4 separate regions of the Homo sapiens genome follow, and regions 2, 3 and 4 are each linked to region 1. Evidence: promoter capture Hi-C in human tissues and cell types (Jung and others, 2019). All regions are on one chromosome and are shown on one strand. The core of a region is centred on a gene start or on the middle of the fragment in contact, and the rest is flanking DNA. Distances in the headings are between cores, read along the strand shown. Region 1 holds the start of YWHAZ (tyrosine 3-monooxygenase/tryptophan 5-monooxygenase activation protein zeta). Region 2 overlaps RRM2B (ribonucleotide reductase regulatory TP53 inducible subunit M2B). Region 3 has its middle 49 kb from the start of RRM2B. Region 4 has its middle 8.1 kb from the start of MIR5680.

What was found. The method cuts DNA at HindIII sites, captures the fragments that hold promoters and counts their contacts. A contact is called where the count stands out against the background at its distance.
Region 2: a contact is called between a fragment that was not itself captured here and the fragment with the promoter of YWHAZ in region 1, in 1 of the 25 tissues and cell types used here (heart right ventricle).
Region 3: a fragment that was not itself captured here is called in contact with the fragment with the promoter of YWHAZ in region 1 in 1 of the 25 tissues and cell types used here (dorsolateral prefrontal cortex).
Region 4: a contact is called between a fragment that was not itself captured here and the fragment with the promoter of YWHAZ in region 1, in 1 of the 25 tissues and cell types used here (dorsolateral prefrontal cortex).

The regions. Positions count from the first base shown.
Region 1 is chr8:100,948,148-100,955,552 of GRCh38, forward strand. It overlaps YWHAZ (tyrosine 3-monooxygenase/tryptophan 5-monooxygenase activation protein zeta), which reads right to left and starts at 3,873. Exons shown (of 6, transcript NM_145690.3): 1 at 3,782-3,873; 2 at 449-753. The coding sequence starts at 742. RefSeq lists enhancers at 2,078-2,137, 2,252-3,111, 2,738-2,817, 3,970-4,828, 5,108-5,217 and 1 more and silencers at 2,398-2,617, 3,008-3,777, 4,008-4,267, 4,288-4,967. The HindIII fragment of the contact is 8,101 bases long and covers 2,480-7,405 here.
Region 2 is chr8:102,204,597-102,212,001 of GRCh38, forward strand. RRM2B (ribonucleotide reductase regulatory TP53 inducible subunit M2B) reads right to left here. Exons shown (of 9, transcript NM_015713.5): 9 at 1-3,689. The coding sequence ends at 3,537. Among named protein-coding and RNA genes, the nearest start is that of RRM2B, 31 kb to the right of the region's middle. The HindIII fragment of the contact is 3,373 bases long and covers 2,789-6,161 here.
Region 3 is chr8:102,186,283-102,193,687 of GRCh38, forward strand. No RefSeq gene overlaps it. Among named protein-coding and RNA genes, the nearest start is that of RRM2B, 49 kb to the right of the region's middle. RefSeq lists an enhancer at 4,553-5,170. The HindIII fragment of the contact is 4,036 bases long and covers 2,475-6,510 here.
Region 4 is chr8:102,113,618-102,121,022 of GRCh38, forward strand. It overlaps a transcript of NCALD not described here. Among named protein-coding and RNA genes, the nearest start is that of MIR5680, 8.1 kb to the right of the region's middle. The HindIII fragment of the contact is 4,908 bases long and covers 1,021-5,928 here.

The sequences.
Region 1 (7,405 bases), core at 2,623-5,122:
CATTAACATTATAGCGGCTAATCCTGAGAAGAGTACTATTTCTACAATGAGTATCCTATTACATCTCTCTTACCTAAAGTATGTAAAATTCCTTTATCCACAGATGTACATTTAAGATAACCAGCTATAGAGCTACTACAAATATTCTAACCATAAGTAAAACAGTAACACAATTAGTTTATATTTTCAATTAATATAAAATACAATACTAAAGTCTGTTATTTTTAACAAAACTGAACTGTTTCATAATCATTGTTGCAATTATTTTACATACACGTATCTATAATTGTCTTAACATCTTTTTAGTCATGACACCATGAAGACTTTTAAATTTGGAACACACAATGTTTAGAAGGAAAAGAAAAACCAAACAAAAAGTTAAGAGTAATGTAACTGATACTCATAGGGACCCTACAGTATAATGAAGCCAGACTGAATTGATTCTCACCAGTACATCATTGCAGATATCTCTTAGCTCCGTCTCAATTTTCTCTCTGTATTCTCGAGCCATCTGCTGTTTTTTCTCAGCACCTTCCGTCTTTTGTTCAATACTTGAGACGACCCTCCAAGATGACCTACGGGCTCCTACAACATTTTTATAAGCAACTGAGAGAAGATTCCTCTCCTCATTGGATAATTCAGCTCCTTGCTCAGTTACAGACTTCATGCAGGCTGCCATGTCATCATATCGCTCAGCCTGCTCGGCCAGTTTGGCCTTCTGAACCAGCTCATTTTTATCCATGACTGGATGTTCTGCAGGGGGGAAAAAAGGAGTATTTAAAATTTTTCCCATCAAAATAAACAGACTCAAAATTATACCTGTGGTAAATGAGTTTTTTAAACCTGAAACCTAACTGCCTGTGAAAGACTGTTCACATGAGGAATTAAAATGCAGCCTCACAAAAGGATAGTCAAAAAAGGGAAAAAAATTTAGCATACTCAGCATCAGAGGTAAACTTACAGCCATTAACACATCAGTGTAGCAAAACTTAAAATTTGTTCAGAAGACCCAAATTTCACATGTCAAAATTACTTCCAAAAGCTGCCTCAAAAACTACCCCTAATCTTACCTGATCAAAATCTCAACTCATTTCCAATACCACTAAGTGATCCAAAATTAAGCAGCTTTTCTTCCTTTAGTAAAAGCATTGTTTACAGAGAACATCTGGATTTCTATCATATTTCCAGAATCATAATTCATATCAGTTTAATGTAACTCACGTCTTTTTACTTTCATAATACTCTTGTCAAGAGTGATTACATTTTAGCTTTAGTGTTACCCCTACCCCAAACCTACTAGATCTCTGCAACAACTGCCAGCCAATAATAGCATAACAATTTGGGGGGGAATGACCAACTGTTTGTTTTCAGATATTTTGAGTATAAATCCACCACAAAGGATCAATATCTGACCCTAATGTCTCAACTCTTTATCTTGTTATATGTCCACATGCTTTAAAAATATCCGCAAGTCATGACACTTCAACTCTTACTGTGAGTACTAGAATATATCACATTGGAAGTACTTAATTTATAAGTGTTTCCAATGTCATCGCTCCAGTTGAAATGCAGAAGTGCTGCATTTTGCTTCTAGCCATCATAATGTAATTGGATGTTACCACTCAAGCTGTCCTTTACCATGACTACCCATCTAATTCTCTTTCCCTCGCATTTTAGTTTCCTGGACCTTTTCGATTTACCTCAGCTACATTTTTCTGGAAAGATACCCTTTTGCAAGTTGCCGAACAGCACAAAGATACTAATCCACACAGTGACACCACAGAATAAATGACTTCAGAGGAAAATACACACCCTGAATGAAGTGCACTTTTAAGTTAGAAGGTGAACAGAAGAGTCCACCTTGGCAGCTGGCTCCCGAATATTAATCATCTTTTACCTTCCCAGGGAAATCCCACAATATTTTTTTAACCAAATGAGAGAACAGGTCGCCACATTTTAAACAAATAATTAACCACTTTGGATGCAAGGTACTGGCTCAATACGTAAACTATTTAACCTTTATGACGGCATTATTTTCGTCAGGTCTCTAAATTACTGATTTTTCCCTTAGGATCTCAGAAACGCTCTCTGGTTATTTCTGCTTCTAACAAAAAATGATTTAAGCCAGTACAAAGGATTCTCTCCCCAATCACTTCGGTACAAGAGGAAGTGGATAAGGTTTCTCACACAGTAACGAGTGCTCCAAGGCCTCGCCTCTACACTGCGGGCAGGACTCACCGCACCCATTTAACCCTTACCTGACTTGAGACGTCGGTTACTGTGAAACGAAAACGGGCAGACCCGGACTTTAAAGTGCAAATTCTCCGGTCCGCGTATCGCAACCACCCCCCTCCAGGCTCCGCCCAAGTCGGAGCCACGGCTCAAGTCCCCGACTCTCCTCCTTTGTCATGGCGGATCTGTGTCAGGGAGCCCAACCTACTGCAGAGTGTTAATTCCTCCCCCCGACCGGAGCCAGAGGGAGGAGCAGCCCGCGCCCCCGCCCAAGCCGTGGGGGGGGGGGAGAGATGGGGAGCGAAGCCGCCCGACCCCGGGGCAGAGACGCCACAGCAGCCCGCAGAAGCGGAACCACTACCAGCCCCGCCGCGGACACACCCCGCTCTCCCACCCAGCGCCTTCCCCGCCACCGATCAGCGCCGGTGACCGTGTACAGCGTCTCTAAGGGACCGACAGCTGCAGGTGGGGGAGGGGACGAGAGCCACACCCAGCCGAGCGGGCCACCAGCGGCTATGCTCAGGCTCACCCGCCCCCAAAGCAGGATATGCGTCCCCAAACCGAGCGCAGGGACCCTCCAGTTCTAGTCCATCAAGCACGGGAGCCGACTGCGGGCTCACCACCCTGTTCTCTACCCCGACCTGGACTTGCAGCCCCCGTCCACACCTCCCCCGCCCGTTCACAAGGAGCAAAAAAAGTCAGACCCATCCCCCACCCCCACCAGGAAAATTCAAGTCCTTCCTCCCACCGCGGAGCCCAGGAAATTCAGCTCTAGGTCCCAGGCGAGCCCCACCCCAAAACCTCACCCCGCAGTGGACTCCCCTCCCGCCGGCGCGCAGCCTCGCCCCGGTCTACCTGGCGGGCGCCGCCGCGCCAGGCCTGGGCTCCGGCCCGCTCTCGGCCAGGCCTTTCCCTCGCGCTTGGGTCCCCGAGGCCCCCGGCCCCTCCCCGCCGCGCCACCGCCTCCCGGGGTGGGGGAGGGCCGGGTCCCGCCGCCGCAGCGCCCAGCGCGGAGGCTGCGCGAGGGGGAGGGAAAGGAGGGGGCGGCCGAGGGAGAGGGGAGGGGGCGGCCTCACCTGCGCCACTGCGATGCCCGCCGCCGCCGCCGCCGAGTCATTATCTCGGGCGGAAGCGAGAAGGGCGGCGAGGGAGGGGGTGGAAGCCCGCAGAGACAAGGGTGGGGATGGATCGCGGCCGGCGGCGCCCCGGCCATGCCTCGTCCACCTTCGGGAGCCGGCGACAGGGAGATCCCCAGGGATCTCGCGTGTGGGCGCCCTACCCACCCCCGGGGGCAGGACGGGGGAGCGAGCACCGATCGGCGCCGGGGCGTCGATGCGGAAGCAAGGAGCCGGAGGCGGCCGCTAGCCGCCCTCCCGAGCCCAGCGGAAGAGGAGCCGCCGCCCGTGTCCGCTGAGGAGACTCCGCCTCAGCCCGGCGCCGCCACCGCGGGGCGAGTGGGGATGAGGGGACGGAGCGAGGACGGCTCCCACGCGTTCGGAAGGCTGGCCTGGGACAGGAAGCGAGGCGCGGCGGCGGCCGGGTTCCTCACCTGTGTCCGGAGTGGGTGGTGGCGGCGGACGGACGGGCTCAGCAGTCTCTGGGCGGCGGCGGCGGCAGCAGCGGCGAGGCTGAGACTCTGTCCCTGGATCTCGCTGCTCACAGGCTACAGCCGCTCCGCAGACACGGGGTTTCCTCCAATCACCAGCCCCGGCAGCAGGGGCACCACACGCACGATGACGTCAAACGCTGCTATGGCAACCGTTGATTGGTGCCCACAGCGATCGGGGCCCCGCGTAACCGCCGCTCCCCGGCGCTCGTCCTGCCCGCCCGCGCTGGAGGGCGAGCGGAGGCGCGCGCGTCCTCGCCCGCAGCCGCCACTCCTCCCACCCCGCTCGGCTTCCAGCTCCTCTACGCTTGTCCCGAGTGCACCTAGGGCAGGAGGCTGCTTTTTTCCTTTTCCTCCCCAACGCAAATCCCCCACTCCTCGCCTTCCCTTTGGGTCCCCAACGCCCTCTCTCTCCCTCTCCCCTGCAGCCTCTGCCGGCCCACTCTTCCTCTCAGCCGGCGGGAAGGCGTTCTCTCCCTACCCCCACCTTAGCTTTCGCTCAGCCCGTCTGCGCTTGCCCCAGTCACTCCCTCTGGAAGGGGCTCCCGTTCAGCAACATCCGGGACCTTTCACATCCCCCCACCCCTCCCCGAGGCCCGGCCCGCCCCACCCTCCGTGCTTCGCGGTAGTAACTGCCCCAGGGCCGTCCCCGGGCAGGATGACAAGGGTGGCTCGGCGGCTCCGGCATTGTGATCAGGACTTGCGGGGCGGGGGCCCCGGGGCGGGGGCAGGGCGCGGTCGCACGGCAAGGGAGGGTTGTGTGTGGTGCGCTGCCCCCCGCCCCGCCCGCCGCTCCCCTTCCCCGGCTGGGCCGACCGGGGCGCGCGGCCCCTCCCGGCCTCCCTCCCGCCGCCGCGGCTTTACCTGCTGGCTCGGGGGAAGCGGTCCTAGACCTTTTATGGCTCGGAAACGGGAGTGAGGCGTCCAGCCCCTGAGTGTGGCTGAGTGATGGGGAGGCGTTCCAATCGAGAGCGCGGGATCTGCGCTCGGTGACTGCGCGAGGGGACAATGGGTGGGCGCCGAGGTGGGGGCGAGGTGGGCCGGGCCGGGCGGAGCCGGCAGGAGGTGAGGCCTGGAAGGAGGCGCGGCCGCTTTAGGGAAGCCAGAGTTCCGAGGGGAAAGGACAGCCTTCTCGGGCGGAGGGCTGGAGCTGGTCCTGGCAGCCTTGACCCGGAGACAGGCAGTCAGGCGTGACCGCACGGACCCGTTTCTCGTAGGCTAGGTTTTCCTACCCAAATAAAGCTTTCACGTGAAGACCTCATACTGCACATGACGATCATTACCTTTTTATCTCCTAGAAGCAAGGTTTGAGGGACGTCGTAGTCCCCAGGGTTCCAGCTGGCGGTGGGAGTGGGCCACAGGCCGGGTGATGAGCCGGGACGGGAGCCCGGAAGAAGGGGAAGGAGAAAGGCGGAAATTGCAGGTGCCTGAACCGGTAGGGCCTCCGCCCAGTTGACTTCAGGAAGTTCAGAGAGAAACATTCACAGTGTGAATGATCTCTGCCCCTTCCCTCTTTAAATGTGTTCGGGCTAAGAAAAGATTAGTGCTTGGATGACCTGCAAAACCACTTGCAACAGCCATGGAGAGTGTACGGTTAGCAATGAGAGAGCTTGGAACTCTTCATTTTACTCTTGTGTAAACTCCCCATTGATTCTTCCAACGTATCTTTATTGAGCTGACCAGAGCCTCCGTTTAGCCTCATGTTCTCTACAGAATTTAGTTTCTCAGTAGTAGACACGAAATGATTGAGTCCTCGCTCTTCCAGTACATTGTCTTTCCTACATAATACAGTGGACCACAAGGCTGCTCTACAAATTACTTTTTGCCTGACATGACAGCTGGCATTTAGATAGTACAGACCAGAAAGAGGGTTTCCAGTGACCAGTTATATTTTAGTGGGTTTTTTTGTTGTTGCTTTTCACAAGTTGCCAAATCACAGACTCATGGTAGGTTAAATGGATAAACAAATTGGAGTTTTATTTCTGAGATGTTAGGGTCAACTAGCTTTGACTCCCAAGTAAATTCTTTTAGGGCGTGACTCACTTAAAATGAGTAATATTTCAAAAGCTATTTTTTTTACAGTTTTTTCGTAGGCACCAGAAATTTGACAGAGGATACTAAGTTAAACGTTTTTTTAAAATGGAAATTGATGTTTCTTTAATGTCTCAAATATATGTCTATGTAGAGTATATGCCTTTTGTTTTAGAGGAAGTTAAGGGGTTTTTCTGTATAAATATGGATTTACTTCAGGAAACAGCTAAGTTAGGCTTTTGCCTCATGCTTTAATAGCAAGGCATTTTTTAGTGCAACAATAGGCACTGTTAGGTTTTACATACTCAAGTCAATGTGTCTGCACAATAAAGATATAATGAAGCTGCAAGAAAGGAACGGGATGTTATGAAAGCCCTGAGGAAAAGATCTTTTAAGAAATAAGGAATAACCTGTGGCATACAGAGCAGAATAAATAGAACCTATGAACCCTGGGAACTTTGCTGGAGACTTTCACTAATACCCTGACCTGTATTTTCTTCAATGCGCAACTCTTACCTCACTCAAGTTGGTTAACCTCTATGTGCTTTGATAGCCACGGCAATAAAATACTGGCAACAAAAACACTTAACTCATCAGGTGATGCTGAGGATTAAACGAATATACACATACATATATTTCTTAGAGTAACCTAGCTATTATTCATTTGTAAATGGATATATCTGATTGATATCTCTAGTGTTCAAAAGATTGTAAAGATAAAATGAAACTATTTTCTTTTTGATTTTTAGGAAACTTCAGTAGCAGAAAGAAACCATATTTTTAAAGTATCTTTTAGAAATAGAAATGCCTATTTGTGTTTCTTAGTGCTGAGACATGAGTGATGAGGGTGAATATTGATTCATTCCTCTATAGGGGACTGCAATGATCTCTTCAAAGCTATACATCAATATATAATGCTATACATTAAAATGAGAAAAAGCCCAGGCACAGTGGTTCACTCTCATTATCTCAGCACTTTGGGAGGCAGGCAGATAGCTTGAGTCCACGGGTTCAAGACCAGCCTGGGCAACATGGCAAGACCCCTTCTCTACAAAAAATACAAAAAGTAGCTGGACATGGTGGCATGTGCCTGCGGTCCCAGCTACTGGGGAGGCTGAGGTGGGAGGATCATTTGAGCCCGGAAGGTAGAGGCTGCAGTTAGCTGTGATTGTGTCACTACACTACAGCCTGGGCAACAAAGCGAGACCCTGTCTCAAAAATGAAACACTAAAATGGGAAAGAGTTTAAGTGAATTAGCACAAGTCCATCCCTCCAATTGGGAAAACATCTCCAAGGATGGACTCTGTTGATGATGTGGCAGTTATATGATATTTTAAGTGTAATCACAATTCTGTCAGGCTATAATTTCACTTCACTGTGTTTTATTTGGAGAAATCCAACATATTGCAGAAGGTTTTGCAGCAGAACAGGGACTAAATCTTGGTTTGTCATTCAGAACTGTGTGACCTTAGGTTTCTGAATTGGACATACCAATTTCTAATCCCATTATAATGGTTGTTGCAATGATTTCATGAG
Region 2 (7,405 bases), core at 3,225-5,724, 1.3 Mb after region 1:
TTATTTCAACATACTAAGCCAAAAAAATAAGAAAACAACTAATTTATTTGAAAAAAAAACAAATTCTGTACATGCAGGCTTGGCTTGATTGACCATAATGTATTTCAGCAAAAAAAATTTAGATACACCACACATAATAAAGCTTTCTATGTACACAGTAAATAGTAAATAACTTTGCTAAATGGCCAGACATTTGAAAAAATGAAAACACAGTTGTAAAACAAAGTATGTAAGAATATTGTGACCTTATTTAACTGTACAAAAAGCAATCATTCTCTCCAGCCTTCCATCTTCACTTACATTTTTTTAAACAAGATTAAGCCCCAAATTGAAGGGATTAAATCCTTTCTTCCTAATGCCTCGGGAATATGAGATTCTCTTTCAAATCTTTAACTTTTTACAAAGGAGCAGAGCACTTAAAGGGAAATGGTGGGAAACAAAGAGATTTCAATTCTGTGCCATTCATCCAGATTCTGCTGGGGAAGATTTCCCAAGTCCACTACCAATTCACTCAACTTGGTTTAAAAACATAATACCTGATTGTAGGATTAATTTGGCTTTTATTTAGCCCATCTGCAGCTTTATCATTAAAAATCAGCTCCTGACATTAGCCCTTAGTTCAGTATCTACAAATGAAATTTGGGAATTCTATGACAGTGATGTTAGCATATTTAAATGTAAAATGCAAAATGATTAATTTTTAAATATGCAAACTGCTACATTTTCTCAATAATCAATTCATGCACAAATAAAAAATGGCAATAGAAAAAGCAGAAAAATATGGATGTTTCTAAATGAGACAATGAGACAATTATAAAAATTTCATGTATTAATATCAAGACAAGGCTGGGGCCAGCTTAGTTGTAAGAAAAACTATTATTGTATATAATTGGACAGCAAAACCCAGTCCTGTCTAAAAGCAATGGATCAAACTGTCTTCTCAAGTCCTTCCTGGCCATATTTCTATGTGATACAATGAAACATTTTTAATAAATGCAATCTATCATAGAACTGCAAGTTTTTATATTCCTAATGAACTTAACTTTATTATAGCAATGATTTAAATACATGTACTGTAAAAAAGAGAAAACAGTTGTAAACACACTCTTAATTTTTTTCTTTATCTGCAAGATAATATTTTTAAAAGATTACACAACTTCTTGATTCTTTAAGAACTAAGAACCAAAGTATTGAACATAATAAATAAATGTGCAACCTGGAGGCCTGGAAAAAGAGATAGAATACCAAATAACAAACCAGTGCATTAAAAATCCAGTATGTCAGTATTAAGACTTCTTCATCCAAATCCAGTTAGGTTTATTGCTATTATAAATAAGCTTCACATTAAGGCATCTGTCATTACCTATGAAAAAGATTTGGATTCAAAACAAAGGAATATACACTGTACAATTTTTTTTCTTTCATTCTGATGTCATTACAGATATTATCAGTTTTAAATGTTAAGTTTTTGTATGGCAATATATAAATATCTTTAAACATATTACCTGAATACAGTTCAAATGTCTCTCTATATTTTGATACTTTAATATATATATTTAAAGTATATTCAATTAATGAGGAAATAGACAAAAGCAAATCAACATAGATGGTAAAGGACTAAATCTGAGACATTACAACCTCTAAAAAAAAATACTGTACAGACAGTGACGATGAGCAGATCTTGGCCAAGTCATTTAACTTCCCTGAGCCTCATTCTTTCCATCTGTAATATTTCAATAACAGTTGCTCTGTCAAGCTGTTTTGAGATCAAATGAGATGATGTAAAAACACTTGGCAAACTGAAGCAATGCAAAAATTAATGGTATTATCATAGGCCAAAAGATCTCAAGTTTCTGACAGTGTATCTAACAAATAAAGTTATGGCCTGCTCCTTTTGCATTCACTTGAGAACTCCCAGTTTTGATTAGATTGTTATGGAAAGAATGGAGCCAAAATTTATGCAAAGAGAAAATCTCTAAGTTTTAGCATCCAGAATTGTATAAAGTACAGTTTGTTGGGAATGGGAAACAACTGCTTGAAGGGGTATACAGAATACCAAATAATAATGTATTAAAAATTCAGTATTTCAGTATTAAGACTTCTTCATCCAAAGACAGGTCTAACTCTAACTAGGCTCAGGCTACCTCTTGATACTTACTAAAAATAAATAGGGGCAGACTTCTCAAAAACCTTGGTTCCCGGCCTTTCATCAGACTCTTCTAGAGAAACCTCCTTTTCCCTCACCATTGGCTATCATGTTGCATAGTCACATTAAAAGAACTATCTCTTATAACAGCTCAAGAGTTTTAAAACCATAAAGAAACACAGCCTAAGTCAATTGCTGGTACACTATTCAGGCTGGTATAAATTTGAAATGATTCAATAATCCCTACCATGTTCTCCCTTTCTCAGTCCATAAGCCCTTCCTCTATGTATAAATGGTTCTCGGCCAGCTTTTTCCAATCTTTGTTCTGAGGAACACTAGCTGGGTGAGATGTTAACAGGTAAAAAACATCTGTGTTAAGTATGTTGGGAATATGCAGGGCGAGATAAATTTATGTACCACTGAACTGCTCAGTCTTTGATGTACTGACTGTACTTGCTAAAGAAGAATGAAGTGTTCAGCATTTCCCAAACTCATCTGACCACAGAATCCCCTTTTTCCCCCAAAAAAATATCTAGAGGAGCTAATAGCTCTTAGAATATTCTTTGGAAAATGCTATTCTAGCCTGATTCTAAACATTCCAGAGCTAAATCTGGCAATAGTTATGTTTTTAATTTCTGAAGAAGAATCATTTTTCTTATAAGGTCAACTACCATGATAACCTCCTGGTTTCCACTCCATAAGTAGGCTTCCCAAAGCAACTAACAACTAAATTTTCTTCACTACATACTAAGGAATTCAAAGAACTTATTCTTGCGTGAATGAGAATTATGTTCTTTTTAAGGAGATACTTATATTCTTCCCCTAAGCATTAAAAATACAAAGATCTAATTCTAGATCCTAGGACCTAGAATCACAATTATTTTAAGGAAATGAGAGTATTTTATTACAACATCATTGCAATTAATATTATCAATGAATGATAATTAGTAGTGGTGCTAACAGTAGTAGTGTTGGTTAAGCATTTATTTTTGCATCCTAATCCTAATATCCACTCTATGAATTTAGGACCTACTATTACTCCCATTTTAAAGATAAGTACACCGAGGTTTACCAAGATTAACTGACTTGCCAAGGGTCACACACTGGAGTAAGGGCAGAACCTTAGACTCATGTCTGACCCCTCGCCCCATGCTCTTAACCACATAATGCCATCTTTTATTTCAGTGACAAGACAAAAGCATTTAGGTCACACTCTTGTTGTTAAACAGGAAAATTATATAAATGCAAATTGTTTAGAATAGGTTTTGGATTTCCTTTTGAGCAAACCCCCAGTCCTTTAAAGGATATACTTAAAATTTTTTTTAAGCAGAGGAAAATAGACTACTATTTACCAATGACAAGTTTATAGAGTTTTAAAACGAGAGGTTTTTTAAAAATCTGCATCCAAGGTGAAGACGTTATCTGTGGTTTCTGCCATAACTGCAAAACGCTGATACTCTGAAACTCGTTTCTCAAAGAAATTTGTTTTTCCTTCTAAAGAAATGTTTTCCATAAAATCAAAAGGATTTTCTGCCTGAAAAACCTAAAAAGGAAAGAAATATTATTAGACATTCTGAAGAGATCAAATTACATCCACAATAAGAGCAAAGATGACCAAAACAGAGGTCAGGTTTCTCAAAACCTATCTAGTCAGCTACAAGATCATATCATTCCCCTAAGACCCTGGAGGTACTCAAGGCTGACAAATTTTAAGATGACCCAAGATCAACCACTAATCTCCTCAAGAAACTGTACTAGCATCTCTGGTATTCTAATAAATAGAAAAAAAAACACAACTATTTCAGGAATTGAAATATTTAATACTAACCAATAGAAAATGTTCTCACAGCTTGAGATATCCAATACACCATGAGCATTTTTCATAGATATTACTATTAGTCAGACATACATGATACTATAAAATGTTAAATTAGCAACAATCCACTGTGGTTCTAAGTATGTTTCTTAGTTTATAAGAGAACAGATAATCAACAAATTGTCATTAAGGGAACATGATCAGGGAAGACAGAATAAATGTTATCCATAGTGACTAGATGTCTCCAAACAAAAAGGGGGACTATGCTAACAAGAAGCTTTTTTACTGCTTCAGAATTCAAGAAACAAGGCCGAGCATGGTGGCTCATGCCTGTAATCTCAGCACTTTGGGAGGCCGAGGTAGGTGGGATCACCTGAAGTCAGGAGTTTGAGACCAGCCTGACTGACATGGTGAAACCCTGTCTCTACTAAAAGTACAAAAATTAGCTGGGCGTGGTAGCAGATGCCTGTAATCCAAGCTACTCAAGAGGCTGAGGCAGGAGAATTGCTTGAACCTGAGAGGCAGAGGTTGCAGTGAGCCAAGATCATGCCATTGCACTGTAGCCTGGGCAACAGAGTAAGACTCCATTTCAAAAAAAAAAGAATTCAAGAAGCAGACTTGGAGATACAGCTTGATGGAAACTGTGGGATATTTCAGTGATTCACAAGGAGTAACAAAAGAGGATTTCTCAATTTAGGAGTATCCCAGCAAAAAATATGAACACTACAGATAAACATATATTCAAGTAACCCAATTTTAAATATGGGCAGAGTGTCTAAATAGACAAACTGATACTTCTTTAAAGAAGATATACAAAATGAAAAGATGCTCAGCATCCTTATCCATTAGAGACATGCAAATCAAGATCACAATGAGATACCACTTCCCACCTACTCGGATGGCTATAATTTTTTAAAAAACAGGTAATAAGTGTTGGTGCGGATGTGGAGAAATTAGAACCCTCATACAGGGTGGGAATATAAAATTGTGCAGCTGCTTTAGAAAACAGTCTGGTAGTTCTTCTAATGATTAAACATGGAGTTACCATATGATCCAGCAATTTCACTCCTAGGTGTATACTTAAGAGATATGAAAACATGTCCACACAAAAATGTGTAAATGAACGTTCATAGTAGCATTATTCACAATAGATCAAAAGAGGAAACAACTTAAATGTCCATCGAATGGATAAATAAAATTTGGTATATCCATACAGTGGAATATTATTTATTTGGTCATATAAAGGAATAAAGCACTGATACATGCTACAACATGAATGCACCATGAAAACACACTAAGGAAAGAAGAGAACCACAAAAGGCCACATATTATATGATTCCATTTGTATGAAATAGAATATGCAGAATAGGCAAATCTACAGACGCAGAATAGGCAAATCTACAGACACAAAAATTAGATTAGTGGTTGCCTAAGGCAAGGTGGGTAAGGGGAGGAAAGAGGAGTGACTGACTGCTAATAGGGATACAGTTTCTTTATGGGGTGATAAAAATGTTCTAAAATAGGTTGTTATGATGGTTGTACAACTCTGTGACTACACTAAAAACTATTGAATTGTACATTTTAAATGGGTGAATTGCATGCTATGTGACTTAATCTTTAAATAAAGCTTTAAATATTTATGTATCTTTTTTCCAAAAACTCATATGCTGGGTGTGGCTGAGTGAAATTCTATGAAATTCTCCATCAGAAATTGTGTGTAAAAAGTGAGGGAATATTGGAGCTGTAATATACAGCAAGATACAGTGAAAGGGCACTGAACCAATAGCCATAGACTCACTAGATGTTAGAACTGAAGACTTTTCAAAAAATTAGATCTAAGTCATTCATGGCATGGACAAAGTAACCAAGACCAAAAAAACAAACTAAATTAAGTGGCTTGTTTTTGGTGGGTTTTTTTTTTGACACAGAGTTTCGGTCTTTTTGCCCAGGCTGGAGTGCAATGGCACAATCTCGGCTCACTGCAACCTCTGCCTCCTGGGTTCAAGCGATTCTCTCGCCTCAGCCTCCCGAGTAGCTAGGATTACAGGCACCCACCACCATGCCCAGCTAATTGTTGTATTTTTAGTAGAGACAGGGTTTCACCATGTTGGCCAGGCTGGTCTTGAACTCCTGACCTCAGGTGATCCACCTGCCTCAGCTTCCCAAAATTTTGGGATTACAGGCATGAGCCACTGTGCCCAGCCTTATTATTATTTTTATTTGTAGAGATAGGGTCTTGCTATATTGCTGAAACTAGTGTGGAACTCCTGGGGTCGAGCAATCCTCCTGCCTTGGCCTCCGAAGTGCTGGGATTATAGGAGTCAGCCACAAGGCCCAGCTCCTACAAGTTTTGATACATAGTAATCATATTGTCATTTACTTTATATTTTCAATTAATTTTTATTTTCATTTTAAATCTCATTTTAAAGGAGATACATGTATATGCAGAGAGAGAGAGAGAGAGAGCGAGAGAGAAAGGGTCTCACTCTGTTGCTCAGGCTGGAGTGCCGTGGCACAATCTCAGCTCACTGCAACCTCTGCCTCCCAGGCTCAAGTGATCCTCCCAGCTCAGCTTCCCAAGTAACTGGGACTACAGGCATGCCACCAGGCCTGGCTAATTTTTTGTAGGATTTCGCCATGTTGCCTAGGCTGGTCTCAAACTCCTAGACTCAAGTGATTCTTCCACCTCAGCCTCCCAGAGTTCTGGGATTAGAGGTGTGAGCCACCGCACCTGGCCTAACGGATATATTTTTAATCTCTAAGTAGATTAAGCTTTTTGGCAATTTTTAAATCAGTTTCTACTTTCATTGCATTAAAAATCTAAGGCCTCTATAATTTCTGCTTTTTAGAATTTACTCAGATATTTTGAAGCCTGTGGAAAAACAAAGTTTTACATTGTGTTTAGACCTTCTCCTGCAGGAGGTGGCATGTTTTACATACCTACAGTTAGCAAGTTCCCAAAAGGAAAATTAGACCCAAGGGTCAGCAGTTTTCTAATAAGCAGCAGAACATGAACGTGTGGATGTGAGGATATGGTAATGGGTTAAAGAATAGCGAATTCACTGTAAGGCTTAAATAAGCAAATTCATTTTCTAATAACAAAAATATTGGTAAAAGTTATGAACAAACACAATTTCTTTTAATATACATAGTTTATAAGTTTAAGAGATTATATTAATATAGTTATAATCTTGATTTCTCATTAATTAGTAAACACAGAGAGGATCTTGCAACTAAAATGTTAAAATGTAGTTTATCTTACCAAAAAAACCTACGCCCCACTTGACTTTTTCATTAAGTACCTGGGTGGTTATCAGAATATAATTCTGCTATATCTGCTAATACAACATTAGCAAGATAGGTAATGATTACCACAGCATCATAGATTTCATAAGGATTCTCATTAAAGATAATTTGAACTTACATTTTCATGACAAGAAATC
Region 3 (7,405 bases), core at 3,243-5,742, 1.2 Mb after region 1:
CGTTCCAACCAATCTCTATTTCCTTAATCTGGCTGAAGGGCTCAACAATATGGAACAGTTCCACACAGTTTCCTATGTAAATGAAGGAATCCGTCTTACACTCGTTTTGGTACCTGTTGGTCATTGTACTGGGGCATCTTGAAATTAAACCCCAATTATATCCATTTTAGAGCCACTCCATTCTTCCTCTCCTAGTATTAACAAAGCATTAAGAGTAAACTTTCAGGGAAAACTGCAATTCTCCTTTTCAACTCAACAGGAAAGACAATAGCAGAGCTCATGGGGTAATAATCTCTGTCCAGCCCTAGGCAGCCAAGCTGAAGGTCTTCTTGGACTTCTCTCAGGCACAAGCTCCATGAGAGGCAGGCAGGCTTCTGGTCTAGCCTGTGATAGTATGATTCTTTGATTACCATCAATTTGGTAATTCTCTTAGGGCTAAAGAACCAAGTGTTAAATACATCAAGTTGAACAAAACACCCTGAGAGAGACACATATCCCAAAGTATTTGGCTTTTAAGATGAATGTGAATTCTTATATTTTTAAATATTGTATTTCACATTTTTGGGAAGTTCCTCTCAAACTCTCACTGCTAGCCACAGAACAATTCCAAAACGATGGCTCTTCTTTGATGGCCCAAAGAAACGGTTTCAGAGAAGCCCCCAGTGCTCAGAACTCCATAGTCAACATTTATGGGTGAAATTGAGCTTGCAGAGCAAATGTGCCAGCTGCTTATTATTGTGAGGAGGATGTATGGGAAGGAGGGTGATCTCTGTGGCTAATGGAGTCCCGGCTACACCACTGAACAATGGACTGGAAAACCTAAAATCAAAGTCTTTCTGTTCCTGCCCTGAAGGACTCCAATAAACTTGGTGTCCCAGGAAATCCTAGTCCAGTCCAGACTGGAATCTAGAGTCTGGCTGTTTGAAAAACTTGTGGGCTGGGGACTCCTCCAGGTGTCTATTTGCCCAGCGTGGTAGCCCTAAGGGGTGTGTGTTTGTGTGTATGTACATGCATATCCAGCCCCCTCGATTATTTTTGAATCTCTGAAGAAAAATTAGAGGCAGACACTGGAGTAACTGTTTTCATGAGGGAATGTGTACGACACTGAGCACTTGAGGTCCTGCTTTGGAACCTTGGAGATGAATGAGGTACAAAGTTAGAGATGGGACTACCCTCCCCACCTCTGCATTGAGTCTATGACCAGGAGATGACACCTCAACACAGACGCTGGTGTTCTCATGGGGCACAGCACAAGGTGCCACTTGGGTCTCTCAGGCTGTTCTGTGAATGGAAGACAGTGGCCAGGAAAGCCAGAGGAGATGGCAGCAGATCCCTTCAGCAGCTGTGCCAGATGGACTGGTCCCTGAGGCAGCCTCTCCCAGCCTCTCAAAATACCTAAGGCTGGGGTGATGTCACCTGAGTAGGTGAGGGCATGAATGGGAAATGTAGGAGACTGACTATAGCAGTGCTTCCTGTGGGTCCACAGACAGACTCAGCCTTGATTCCTGACATTCAGCCAAGAAGCAGAGTGTATACAATGGGAGCTCTTACAAAAAAACAGTTGAACCTGGTTATAACATGACTCACATTGCATGGGTTAGGGCTTATTCTGGGGCAAATGCAGACTGGAAACAAATCCAGCACCTACCCCAACCTTGGAGTGAATAGAATCATCTCCAAATTCCCTCTGAGTGTGCAAATGCAAATTCTGGGCTCATTTCTGGAAAGTCTGATTGAGCAGATGTGAGGTGAGGCCTGGTTATCTGCTATAAGCACCCTCGGGAGCTTCCAAGCAGTAAGCCAAGGCCCAAGCTTTGACAAACACTGTCTAACAGTAATAAACCACCCAGCTGACTCACATGGCCAAAAATTGGAAACATTTTAATTCCTGTAAGATTGAAGGTGAACATCTGTACACCAAGGGTTATTATCCTGGCCCCCCTCCTCAAATAAGTTGTTTCTGATAGCAGGAGAAGTCTTTAAAGATGGTCTTGCTGCTGAAGGTCTCAAAGGTGACAAAAGTGTCCACCTGGCTGCCAGGTGAAAAGCTAGACTTTGCAAACAGGAATTTCCCATCTGAGGACACCTGCAACTTCCACATGTTTGCCTTGTGATCAGAATAAGGTCAGTCGTGAAAGGACCCTTGAACAAATGAATGAGGCAGACAAACAAGGTGCCATGGCTTTGTTCTGTGGGTAGAATGAAGAAAATGTGTTAAGTTGTCCAATGAGAAAGAAGACACAAAGGAACCATCCCCAGTGAAGGAAACTGACGCAACTGTCTTCATGAGCTTGCAAGGGAGAACAAAATGTTCAGAAGCTGAGCCCCCAAAACTTCAGAGACCTGGAATGAAAAGTGTGGGTGGTAAGGGAGGTAATAGGCAGAGTAACACAGCCTTAGGGATGGCCCGGCCTGACCACGGTGATAAAGGAGCTGTCTACACAATAGTGTTACCAACTTGAGGGGAGTTGGTATCTGCCTTAGCCTGGGGAAAAGCAAGAGGGCATCAAGCAGGGGAAGAGGAAGAAGGTCTGAAGGGTAGGCTGAGAGAAACAGAAGCCCACAGAGAGGGCTAGAGAGGCAGGGGGCAGGGCAACAGCCTAGAAGGCAGCCCTTGCCAAAATACCAAGCTAAGCCAGCGGTAGTATTCTATGTAATGTGTTTAATTGTATTGCTGCTGACTTATTTCCAGCTGTTATTCAGTTAATGTCCCAACTTCCTTGGACAGGAATAAATTTCAGGTCTTATTTCATTCCACAGTTCACTGGTTCTCCAACTCTAGTGTGCATCAGAACCACGTGGAAGGCATGTCAAAATACAGATCTGTGGGCCCCAACCCAGGGCTTCTGACTCAGCTGGGCCAGGGCCTCAGAAATTGCATTCTCACCAACTCCACGGTGATGCTGATGCTGCTGGTCTGAGCACCACACTTTAAAAACCACTAATAAAGAGCATCCTTCCCTTAAACAGGTAAAAGAAGATGGGAGGAAGCTGGAGACAAAGAGAATAAAGGAGCCTGGTAGGAGGCAGTCTGCAACAATGTAGGTAGGGCAGGTTACTCTATGCAGACTGATTTCAGTGCTCATGGGAAAGTTAAGAATAAGAAGATGTTTATATCAGCAGATTGATGCAATAAGCTTCACATGCAGAATTTACTACCTTGATTTGAAAGCAAATACCCCTGGGGAGAAAATAAAATTTATCAGTCATTTACACCTTACTCTGAATGAGTTTTAAATTTCATATCTATATGTCAGATTGTCATCTGTGAATATAGATCATTTTACTTCTTCCTTTCCAATTTGGATGCCTTTTAGTTCTTTTTGTAGCTTGACTGCTCTGGCTGGAACTTCCAGTACAATGTTGATTAGCAGTGAAGAAAGTAGGCTTCCTTGGCTTGTTCCTGAGTTGAGTGGGAAAGCTTTCAGTCTCCCACCATTGAGTGTTAGGCCATTCTTGTGTTGCTATAAAGAGATACCTGAGGCTGGGCCATTTATAAAGAAAAGAGGCTTAATTGGCTCACAGTTCTGCAGGCTATACAGGAAGCATGGTGCTGGCATCTGCTCACCTTCTGGGGAGGCCACAGGGAGCTTTTACTCATGGCAAAAGGTAAAGTGGCAGCTTGTACATTACATGGTAGGAGCAGGAGCAAGGGGGTTGGGGAAGGTGCCACACTTTATAACAACCAGATGTCATGAGGACTCACTCACTATCAGGAGGATAACAGCAAGCCATGAGAGATCTGCCCCCATGAGCCAAACACCTCCCACCAGGCCCCACCTCCAACATCAGGGATTACAATTCAATATGAGATTTGGTGGGGACATATATTCAAACTATATCATTCTGCCCCTGGCCCCACAAATCTCATATGCTCCTCATAGTGCAAAATATAATCATGCCTTCCCAAGAGCACCCCAAGGTCTTAATTCATTCCAGCATGAACTCAGAAGTCCAAAGTCTCATCTGAGACAAGGCAAGTCCCTTCCGTCTATGATACTGTAAAATCAAAAGCAAGTTATTTACTTCCAAAGTACAATGAGGGTACAGGCATTGGGTAAACATTCCCATTCCAAAAGGGAAAAAATTGGCCAAAAGAAAGAGATGAGAGGTGCCGTGGAAGTTCAAAACCCAGCCAGGCAATCATTAAATCTTAAAGCTCCTGAATAATCTCCTTTGACTCCATGTCCCAGATCCAGGGCACATTGCTGCAACAAGTGGGCTCCTAAGGCCTTAGGCAACTCCACCCCCACCTGTGTCTCTGTGGTGTCTACTCACCATGGCTGTTTTCATGAATTAGAGTTGGTAGCCTGTGGCTTTTCCAGGTGCAGAGTGCAAGCTGCTGGTGGATCTACCATTCTGGGATCTGGAGGACAGTGGCCTTCTACCCACAGCTCCACTAGGCAGTGCCCCAGTAGGGACTCTGTGAAGGGCCTCCAACTCCACATTTCCTCTCTGCACTGCCCTAGTAGAGGTTATCTGTGAGGGCTCTGCCCCTACAGCAGGCTTCTGCCTGGGCACCCAAGCTTTTTCATACATCTTCTGAAATCTAGGGGTAACCTTCCAAGCCTTATTCACTCTTGCATTCTGTGGATCCACAGGCTTAACATCATGTGGAAGCTGCCAAGCCTTACTGCTTACACCCTCTGGAGCTAGAGCAGAGGCCCGAGTTGTACCTGGATCCCTTTGAATTGTGGCTGTAGCTGGAGCTGCCTAGGTGTAGGGAACAGTGTCCTGAGGCTGCACAGAGCAGCAGGGCCCTGGGCCTGGTCCCCAAAACCATTCTCTCCTAGGCCTTTGGACCTGTGATGGGAGGGGCTGCCTCTGAGATCTCCAAAATGCCTTCAAGGCCTTTTCTCCCATTGTCTTGGCTATCAGCACCTGGCTCTTTCTTAGTTATGCAAATCTCTCTAGCAAGTGATTGCTCCACAGCCTGCTTGGATTCTTCCCCTGAAAACAGGCTTTTCTTTTCTACCACATGTCCAGGCTGCAAATTTTCCATACCTCTACCCTCTGCTTCCCTTTTAAATATAAATTCCAACTTTAGGTTATTTATTTGCTCCCACATCTGAATGTAGGCTATTAGAAACAGCCAGATCATATCTTGAATATTTTGCTGCTTAGAAATTTCTTCTACCAGATACTCTAGGTCATCACTCTCAAGTTCAAACTTCCCTAGATCCCTAGAGCATGGACACAATACATCCAAATCTTTGCTAAGGCATAACAGGGTGACCTTTGCTCTATTTCCTAATAAGATCTTCATTTCCATCTGAGACCTCAGCAGCCTAGACTTCACTGTCCATATCACTATCAGCATTTTGGTCACAGTGAATTAACCAGTCTCTAAGAAATTCCAATCTTTCCCTCATATTCCTGCCTTCTTCTGAGCCCTCCAAACCCTTCCAACTTCTGCCTCTTATCTAGTTCTATAGCTGCTTCCACATTTTCAGGTATCTTCATAGCAATGCCCAACTCCCAGTACCAACTTTTTGTGTTAGGCCATTCTTGTGTTGCTATAAAGAAATACCTGAGACTTGGTAATTTATTTTAAAAAGAGGTTTATTTGGTTCACTGTTCTACAGGCTGTACAGGAAGCATGGTGCTGGCACTTGCTCAGCTTCTGGGGAGGACTCTGGGAGCTTTTACTTATAGCAGAAGGCAAAGCAGGAGCTTGCACATCACATTGTGGGAGCAGGAACAAGAGAGAGTTGGGGCCAGCTCTCATGAGAACTCACTCACTATCAGGAGGACAGCACCAAACCATGAGGGATCTTCCCCATGACCCAAACACCTCCCACTAGGCCTCACCTCCAACAGTGGGGATTACAATTCAACATGAGATTTGGTAGGGACATATAGTCAAACTATGTCACCAACTGTGAGTAAAACTCATATTTGAGGAGGTTCAGAGGGTAAGGAGAAAGGAAAGGCACAGAGACTGGATATGGCCTATAATTTATTCATTTTAACCTCATTTTACCCATGGCTAGTCTGAGGCTGAGAGATTGATTGATTGATTGATTGATTGAGAAAGGGTCTTACTCTGTTACTCAGGCTAGAGTGCAGCGGTGCAACCATGGCTCACTGCACCCTCAACCTCCTGGGCCCAAGCAATCCTCCTACCTCAGCCTCCTGAGTAGGTGGGACCACAGGTGTGTACCACCATATCTGTTAATTTTTGTAAAATTTTGTAGAGACAGGTTCTCCCTATGTTGCCTAGGCTGATTTTGAACTCCTGGGCTCAAGTGATCCTCCTGCCTTGGCCTCCCAAAGTGTTGGGATTATAGGCTTGAACCACCATGACCAGCTGAGAACAAGTTTTAAAAGCCAATTTATTAAGAAGGATTTAAGGTTAAAGCTGATAACCTAGTTCTAGTTCTAGTTACTGCTCTATATGGGACTTGGGCAAGGTTCTTGACTTTTTGGGACCTTAGTCTGCTCTTATAAAACAAGCATCCAGTGGCACCCTGAGAGTAACAGCTTTCAGGATACCTGGGCTGACCACAGGATTAAAACTCACCAAGACTAGTCCAACCACAAACTGGGATTTGATGCATCTCTTCTCTCTCCCAGCACTCTTCCCTTTCTACACTCAACTCAGATCCAGACTCTTGTCTATATTGCAACTCCTTCAAACCACAGATCAATATATATTCCCATTTTACAGATTAGAAAATTGAGGTTCAGAGGGGCTTAAGTAACTCATTCAAGGTCACATGGCTAATAAATGATAGAACTGAGATTCTTCTTCTGACTAAAGTATTTCATCTTTCCGCTTTGCTACTCTTTGTAACTCCTAACCTGGTACTCTTTTCCACACACCACACACTTTGAATCCTAGTCTCAGCCTAGCATACCTGGTAATACCTCCATTTGAGCCTGTGCCCCTCCTTTCATGCCCTCCTCAGTTATGAAACCCTAAAGCCAGGAAAGGGGCATTTCTTATCCTGCCTGCCTCTTCCCACTCCAGCCACCTGGCTTGATGAGCACATGGTCTCACTGTCTTCTGATGGGCTGTTTTGTGAAAGGTGTGAGCTACAGGATAGAATAAGCTCTGTAATTTATTCCTGTCACGGGGAACTTAAATATTAGCTAGATCACAACAGGAAACCAGCCATTCAAAAGTAATACAATCAAAGATGTTTTTCAGTCCAAACATACCTGCAGAAGGGAAAACAATCCCAGCTGTCTTCCAATCTGGAGGAGCCACAGAGTTTTTTGTAGTCCAGGCATGAGTACCTGATGTACTGTCTCCAGGACAAAGGTTTTGGTTTGAACATTAAGCATTCCTAACTTGGTCTCAGTTAAAAGGCAGTAGCACTCCTCCCTAGGAAAGAAGGGTGCTGGGGCACAGTCCTGAAATGAAAAGCAGGCAGGGCACCCCAATGGCAGAACCCAGGAG
Region 4 (7,405 bases), core at 2,225-4,724, 1.2 Mb after region 1:
ACTATGTTTCTTTACCTGGATTGCCTAGGACAGTCCCCATTTGTGCCTGCTGTTTTGCTGTAATTACTGGAAAGTCCTCCCCTTTCACTCTCAAAAATGTCCCAATGTGAACAATAAATTATGTAGTCGTCTTATATTTAGCCAAGAAACATTTCTTGGCCAGTTATGATGTGCTACCTACTGGGTTGGGCACTTATATTAGTTTTTTAAAAGGTATGTAAGATAAGAACAATTTCAGAACAATCTACTTGAAAAGACAGAAATAGCACCCCAAACAACCGTGAATCAGTGAAAACTTGATAATCATTGGTGTAGTCTAGGCTGTCAGTGCCTTAGTTCAGATCAGAGAAGAGTAGCGAGTGTATCCCCTCAAGGGGGTCACTCCGTAGAACTAATGCTAAAAGCAGCAATGCTTCTCGAGCACTTCCTGTGTGCCAGGCACTATGACAAGCATGATGCCCACGTGATCTCGCTTCATGCTCAAAACAGCCCTGTAAGTGAAGGGCTGTCATTCGCTCATTTTATGGATGAGATGACTTCCCCAAAGTCAGGCCAGAGAATTCAAATGTCTAGCTCTCAAACATACGTTCTCCACCACTGTAGATGTGGAGGTACTGCCTTCTGATCACCCATCCCTACCAGGAGCTGGCCCAGCAGAGTCACGTGTTATCACAGCCATCAGCTTCTCTCTTTCTGCCCTGCAGCAGAGCAAGCTGTGGCCAAACTCTGTCCAAGGGTTACCAAATCAGTTAAAGCCCAACCAGAAAACTAAAGAGGCTGCTCTTGAATCCTACAGAGGAGTCCTACTGAAGAGGCTATTGAGAAGAAAGTCATACAGGGGTTCAGGAAAGCAATGAAGGATGATGCAGGACTCTAAGGCTAGTAATAGCAGGAAGCCATGACCACCCTAGGCCTGAAGGCATGAGGGGAGGAAGTGGCTGAAGGAACCCAAAGAGGGTGGCGATATGGAGAGGATAGCTGCAGGCGCTGTGGTCTTTAGCACACACACACCAAGCTGCAGCTTGCAACCCAGTGGAGGGACAGGGGAATAAATACCCTACCTCACTCTCCTCCCACCCTCCCGTCTCCTGCTGATTTCTGGCCAAATTATACCAGAAGTCAGAAGAAAAGATGGCCATTGACGCCAGTGGTAAAGATCACCTCTTGGGGCACAGAGCCAGGTGGAGAAGGGAGCCAGGGATGTGGAAGGGCCAACAGGAGATATCCAGGCCTCTTACTGCCCTTGCCCTACAGAAGAGCTGTGCTCCAACCAAGGCAGAGGAAACTGGCCTGGTCACTCTTTGGGAGTTAAGGTGCCAGGTAGGTAAAAGGACACCATCCTCAGCATATGCACAAAGCCAGGGCCAGTTTCATGAGCATGTGACCTGTGCCATCACACAGGCCCCATACTCAGCAGGGCCCCATGCTGGCATTAATCCTCCACTAGCACCATCTTCAAATTCTTAATTTTTTTAAACAAAGTTCCCACACTTTCATTTTGTTGTGAGCCCCACAAACTGTGTAGTTGGTCCCCTGCAAGGCAAACCTTTTCTTCAGGTAGTGAGACTAAATTCTGTAAGTATCACAGTATTCCGATACACTGTTAAAGCAAAAGGATCCAAAGTTAATATTAACCAGAGTAACAATGATACAGTAGGATAGGTAAGATGGTAACATGAAGGGGCACTTTACCTTTTTTTCTTTCCTTCCTCTCTTTTAAAGTCAAACTGTAAAGCAGCTGAGAAACCAAAATTAGCTGCCCCCTAGAGAGAAACTGACCTTAATTACACCTGCTACTCCATAGCACAGACTGAATGGATTTTGGCTCTTCCCCAGTTAATGCGATCAATGCAGACAATAAAACAGAATAATTGATGCCCTGGAGTGGACTTTTCTGATACACCTCATTTGATGGACTACAGTCATCGAATTCTCCAGGCCATTGCCAAAGCTACTCTTTACCTTGCCTTATGTGCCCGATGTACACAGGCCCTACTTTGGGGCTCACTGTTGAAAATACATAAATAAAAGACGTGCGGATGGGTCAATGGCATTCACAAACAATATTTGTAGTGGATGCTTCCTGAAGCATGGGCTTAGAAACTTGAGTCTCTGCTGCTTCTGCTTCCCTTTCCTGAAAGACTCCAGCATCCTTAGCCTTCCTCTGAGAAATTATATTTCTAAAAGCATCTGGGAAAGCCCCAGGTGAGAAGCCTGAACAGGACCAGTGGCAGCTCTTTTTCCCATTCATTTCCTTCAATGCCATCCAGCAAAGCAAAGCCCAGAAAACGTTTAGCTGAGACAGGGATCAAACTGGCTTCTGACAGCCTCTTTCACACCCCTTTATTTCAGAAGTAAAGGACGGTAGATTTTAAGTGTTTGTTTATTTTGTTGTTTAAAGTTAGAATAAAGTTGCAAATGATCAAATCAAAAGCATTTAGAAAACCTCTACTGTGTCAGAAGGGGAACATCACACACCGGGGCCTGTCGTAGGGTGGGGGGAGGCGGGAGGGATAGCATTAGGAGATATACCTAATGTAAATGATGAGTTAATGGGTGCAGCACAGCAACATGGCACATGTATACATATGTAACAAACCTGCACGTTGTGCACATGTACCCTAGAACTTAAAGTATAATAAACAAAAACAAAAACAAAAACAAACAAAAACAAAAACCTCTACTGTGTGTCAAGGAACCTAGAATCCAGACAGTAAATCAAATCTAGGGGCACCGTAACAGAGTCAGAGAATCCATAGTTGCCGTGTATCCTAACTACTGAGCTCTGTCATGGATTGAATGGTGGTGACCCCCAAAAAAAGTATGTCCAAGTGTCCAAGACTTTTTTGGGTTTCTTTTGTAGGGTGGTGGTGTTGTTGTTTTGAGACAAGGTATCGCTCTGTCACCCAGGCTGGAGTGCAGTGGGGTCAACATGGCTCACTGCCGCCTCCACCTCCCGGGCCCAAGAGATTCTCCTACCTCAGCCTCCCGAGTAGCTGGAACCACGGGTGCATGCCAAGAGGCCTAATTTTTTTTCTTTTACTTATTTTTATCTATTTATTTATTTTTTGGTAGAGATGGGGTCTCACCTTGTTGGCCAGGCTGTTTTTGAACTCCTGGGCTCAAGCAATCCTCCTGCCTCGACCTCCCAAAGTGCTGGGATTACAGACATGAGCCACTGGGCCTGGCCATAACCAAGCTTTAACCCCCGGAACCAGTGAATATGACCTTATTTGGAAAAAGGGTCTTTGCAGATGTCATAAAGGATCTTGAAATAAAATCATTCTGGATCACGCAGCTGGGTTCTAAATCCAGTGACAAATGTCTTTATAAAAGATGCGCAGAGGAGAGACACACAGAGAAGAGCAGGAAGCAATGTGACGTGCAGCGCAGCTCTAGTGATGCAACCTCATGCCCAAGAATGCTGCAGCTACCAGAAGCTAAAAGAGGCAAAGGATGAAGTCGCCCCTAGAATCCCTGGAGGAAGCACGGCATTTCGGCCTCAGACTTCTAGCCTCCGGAGCCGTGAGAGGATAAATATCTGTTGCATTCAACCACCATTTTGTGGTCATTTGTTTCAGCGGCCACAGGAAACAAATATAAGCTTACAGCCCCATCTCTCACCTGTGGCCTCAGCTTCACAATCTCCGGCCAGGGACTATATGAAGCCTTCCAAAGCAGCCCATTCCGTGTTCACAGTAGGCCTAGTTCTGGCCCCAGATGAGTCTAATCCCTTTCCCTCAGTACAGTGCTTTCATGTATGTGAAGAAAAGAATATAAAAGTCCCACAGAGCGATTCCAGGCCAGAGAGTCCCAGCTACTGTCCTCGGCATCCGCCAGCTCATGAGAAATCCCCTTAACTTGTACCAGTCAGGGCAGCACAGAGGGAACGATCCTCTCCCTTCCTTTGAACAGTATTCTCTTATTGCAGCCCAAGGTCTCACTAATGTTTAAACAGCCAGGTGACACTGTCAACTCCGTTGGCACTTTCAACTCAAAAAAAAAAAAAACGCAACTTACATCTTTTTCATGTGTAGCAAATGTGATTCAAGGACATGTTGTCACTCCCATCAAGTATATGGAAAATATTCTTTTTATCTAAACACAATGAATCAAGTATGAAATATGCCTGCAAAGTACATTATTTTTGTAAAAAGTGGGGGATCTGAGCAGGCACCCACACCACCTATTGACAGCCAAGCCAAGTTTGTACACATCAGATTATTTCCAAAGAACCAAAACACACAGGTTGGGGAAAACGTAACCTTCCAGATCCAGCTGCATATACAGAAGAAATGTGCTGATGATCTCTGATTATTTGTCAGTCTTCAGATTTCAGCTCCATAACCTGCACTAGCTCCCAATGTTGGTAAATCATTCAACCTCTCAATGCCTCGGTTCACTTACCTGTAAATTGGGGATAATTAGAACACTACTTTGTGTTGGCTACTATGGACTACAAGATAGTCCCACATCAACAGGCCTTCTTGCTGTCTGGCTGTGGCTAGTTTGGCCAATTGGGAGGCACCAGCACCAGATCAGAGAGTGGAAGAGAGTGGCTGGGGCCTTTATCCACCTGGATGCCTCCCCACCAGGCCACAATGGGCAGTAGTCATATTCCTCTACTGAAAACCACAGCTCCAGCCAGCAGCCCTGTCCCCTGAACAACTCCAGAAACTGCTCTCTCACCTCATGCTGTCAGGGCTGGGTAGTGAAGGCTTGCATGCACTGCTGGCCACTTCTGGTGGGTTCCCTGATCTTACCCGCACCTTTGTAAATAGTCCCTTCATTAACTTTCCTCAGTTACTGCCTTCTGAGCAGTTCATCCGCCTCCTTATGGGATGCTGGAGGAGGAATCTTTCATAGGATTTAGCAGAATTAATCAATACTTGAATCGCCTTTAGGCATTTGCTAGCATGAGTGCTATTATTAGCAACAGTAGTCTACTTCTGTGAGGAATCCTGGGCCATGAGATCTCTCGATGCCGTATTTACATTTCCTCCCCAAGTTCAGTACCATTTACTAGAGATAGACATATTTTCAGTTGTACAGATGTGGGGAAAACTATTATGTTCTCTCATCTAAATAATTAAAATAACTTCTCTGCTGCTTTCCTCTTCTCCCCACCCCCTCTCTAACGTCCAAACCTTCCGATCATGCCATTATCACAGGCAACAAATATCCAATGGTTCCCCATGACCCTAGAATGAAGTTTAAACTCTACCACTATTTCTCACAATTCAATTCCAACCTACCTTCAAGAATGTGTTCAACATTTCACACCTACTAGCATGGCTATTATATTAAAAGAAAAAACAGAAAATAACAAGTGTTGATGGAATCCTTGTGCATTGCTGGTGGGTATGTTAAATGGTACCACCGTGGAAAACAGTGGATGTTCCTCCAAAACTTAAACACAGAATTGCCATATAACTCAGCATTTCCACTTCTGGGTATATACCCAGAAGAACTGAAAACAGGGAGTTGAACATATCACTGTACACCCATATTCACAGCAGTGTTTTCACAGTAGCCAAAAGATGGAAGCAACCCAAACGTCCATCAGCAGATGCATGGATAAACAAAGTGTGGTACATACATACAATGGAACAGTATTCCACCTTAAAAAGGAAAGAAATTCTGCCCATGTTACAACACGGATGATCTCTGGGGACATTATTATAAGTGAAATAGGCCAGTCACAAAAAAGACAAATACCTTTTATATGAGGTACCTAGAGTAGTCAATTCATAGAGACAGAAAGTAGAATAGTGGTTGCCAGAGGTTGGAAGGGAGGAGGAGATAGGAAGTTAGTGTTTAGTGGAAACAGAGTTTCAGCTGGGCAGGATGAAGAAGTTCTGGAGATGGATGGTGGTGATGGTTGCACAATAATGTGAATGTATTTAAAGCCACTGAACTGTACGTTTAAGAATGGTTAAAATGGTCAATTTTATGTTATGTATATTTAACCACAGTTTTTTAAAAGGTTGTATTCAAGAAATATTTATTGCTTGCCTATGGCACAAAGCACTGTACTGGGGCTGCCTCAGGAAACAAAATGCAAGACCACCATCCCCAGGAAGGGAACTTACCTCCTGCACATTCCCCTACCTGCTCCAGATTCTAGTCAATCCCTTCCCTAATTATGTCTTGCACTTTCACATTAGAATATAAATTCCTAAAGACAGGGGACTAGATCTTATTCAGCCTGTATCCCTACAACCTAACAGAATGCTGAGCATGTAGAAACTGCTCAAGAATATTGGTCAAATAGTTGAGTAAAAATCCAGGCAGAGACGTCTATGTCATTTTTCTCATGTCTTCTAGCCAGTCAGAACTTAAAATTTCTTGAAGTTATATAGCTATACTTGCAGGAATAGAGAGGCTAGAGCTTCACACTAAGCTCACTAAACTCACTTTAAATACTCTGTTCACAAGTAATTCTACTAAGTGCATAAATTGTGGATTTCAGATGAGAACTCCACTATTTACTGACCATGTGACCTTGAGCAAATTATTGCGTGCTTCTAACGCTGTTTCTCTTATCTATGAAGAGGGAATGCTAACAGTCCTATAGTGAACATCTGTTGCTTTGCAATCCAAAATCCAGGGGCTCATCTCTTGGTGAGAGTATAACAATTTTCTGCTGAAGAAACACCCCTGCTCCTATTTCTCAGCCCGTCTCTAAGGATGAAACATGTGACATGTGATGAAGCCCAAGCCTAGTAACATGTGGCACCCTGGTCACAGGAATAGACACAGGACCCAATCAATGCTGACGAGCCAGAGTAAGTCATTGTGAGCAATGCCGGGATGGAGACTTCCACTTTCTGGCTGGATTTAAAGCCCAGACTATGTAAGGTCTGGAGCTCTTCCAGCCATCCTACAACGAGATGGGGCCTCAATGAGATGGTACTAAAAATGGTGCCGACTCCATGAAAGCAAGCTGAGAAAAATAGAGAAATGAGGTCCCGCTAACAATGTTTGAGGCCTGAATCAGGCCATATCCGAAATGTCTTCCTCTGGACTGAGGAGTTATCAGAGCCAAAATAACATTCCTTTTTTGCTAAAACAGTTTGAATGTTGGGGTTCCTGACACAACAGAATTGAGTCCTAAGTAAAATATCTCCTGAAAAATTATCATAAATGTTAAATGAGGTATTCCATGTAAACCAGGGCCACATAGTACACACTCAATAAATGCCAATATCAATGTTAACTGCAGTGATTGTTCATTGTTGTGGTAGAAAGTTCCTGCCTTCTAGGGACTTTTAACTCATGTGCTCTATCCCTGATTTCTGTCTTCATTATCCGCAAATGATATTCTCTAGGATAGGAATGGTAAAGACTATTCCCTAATCCCATTCCCTAGCAGACAGACATCACTAGTTGACCACAGCACACT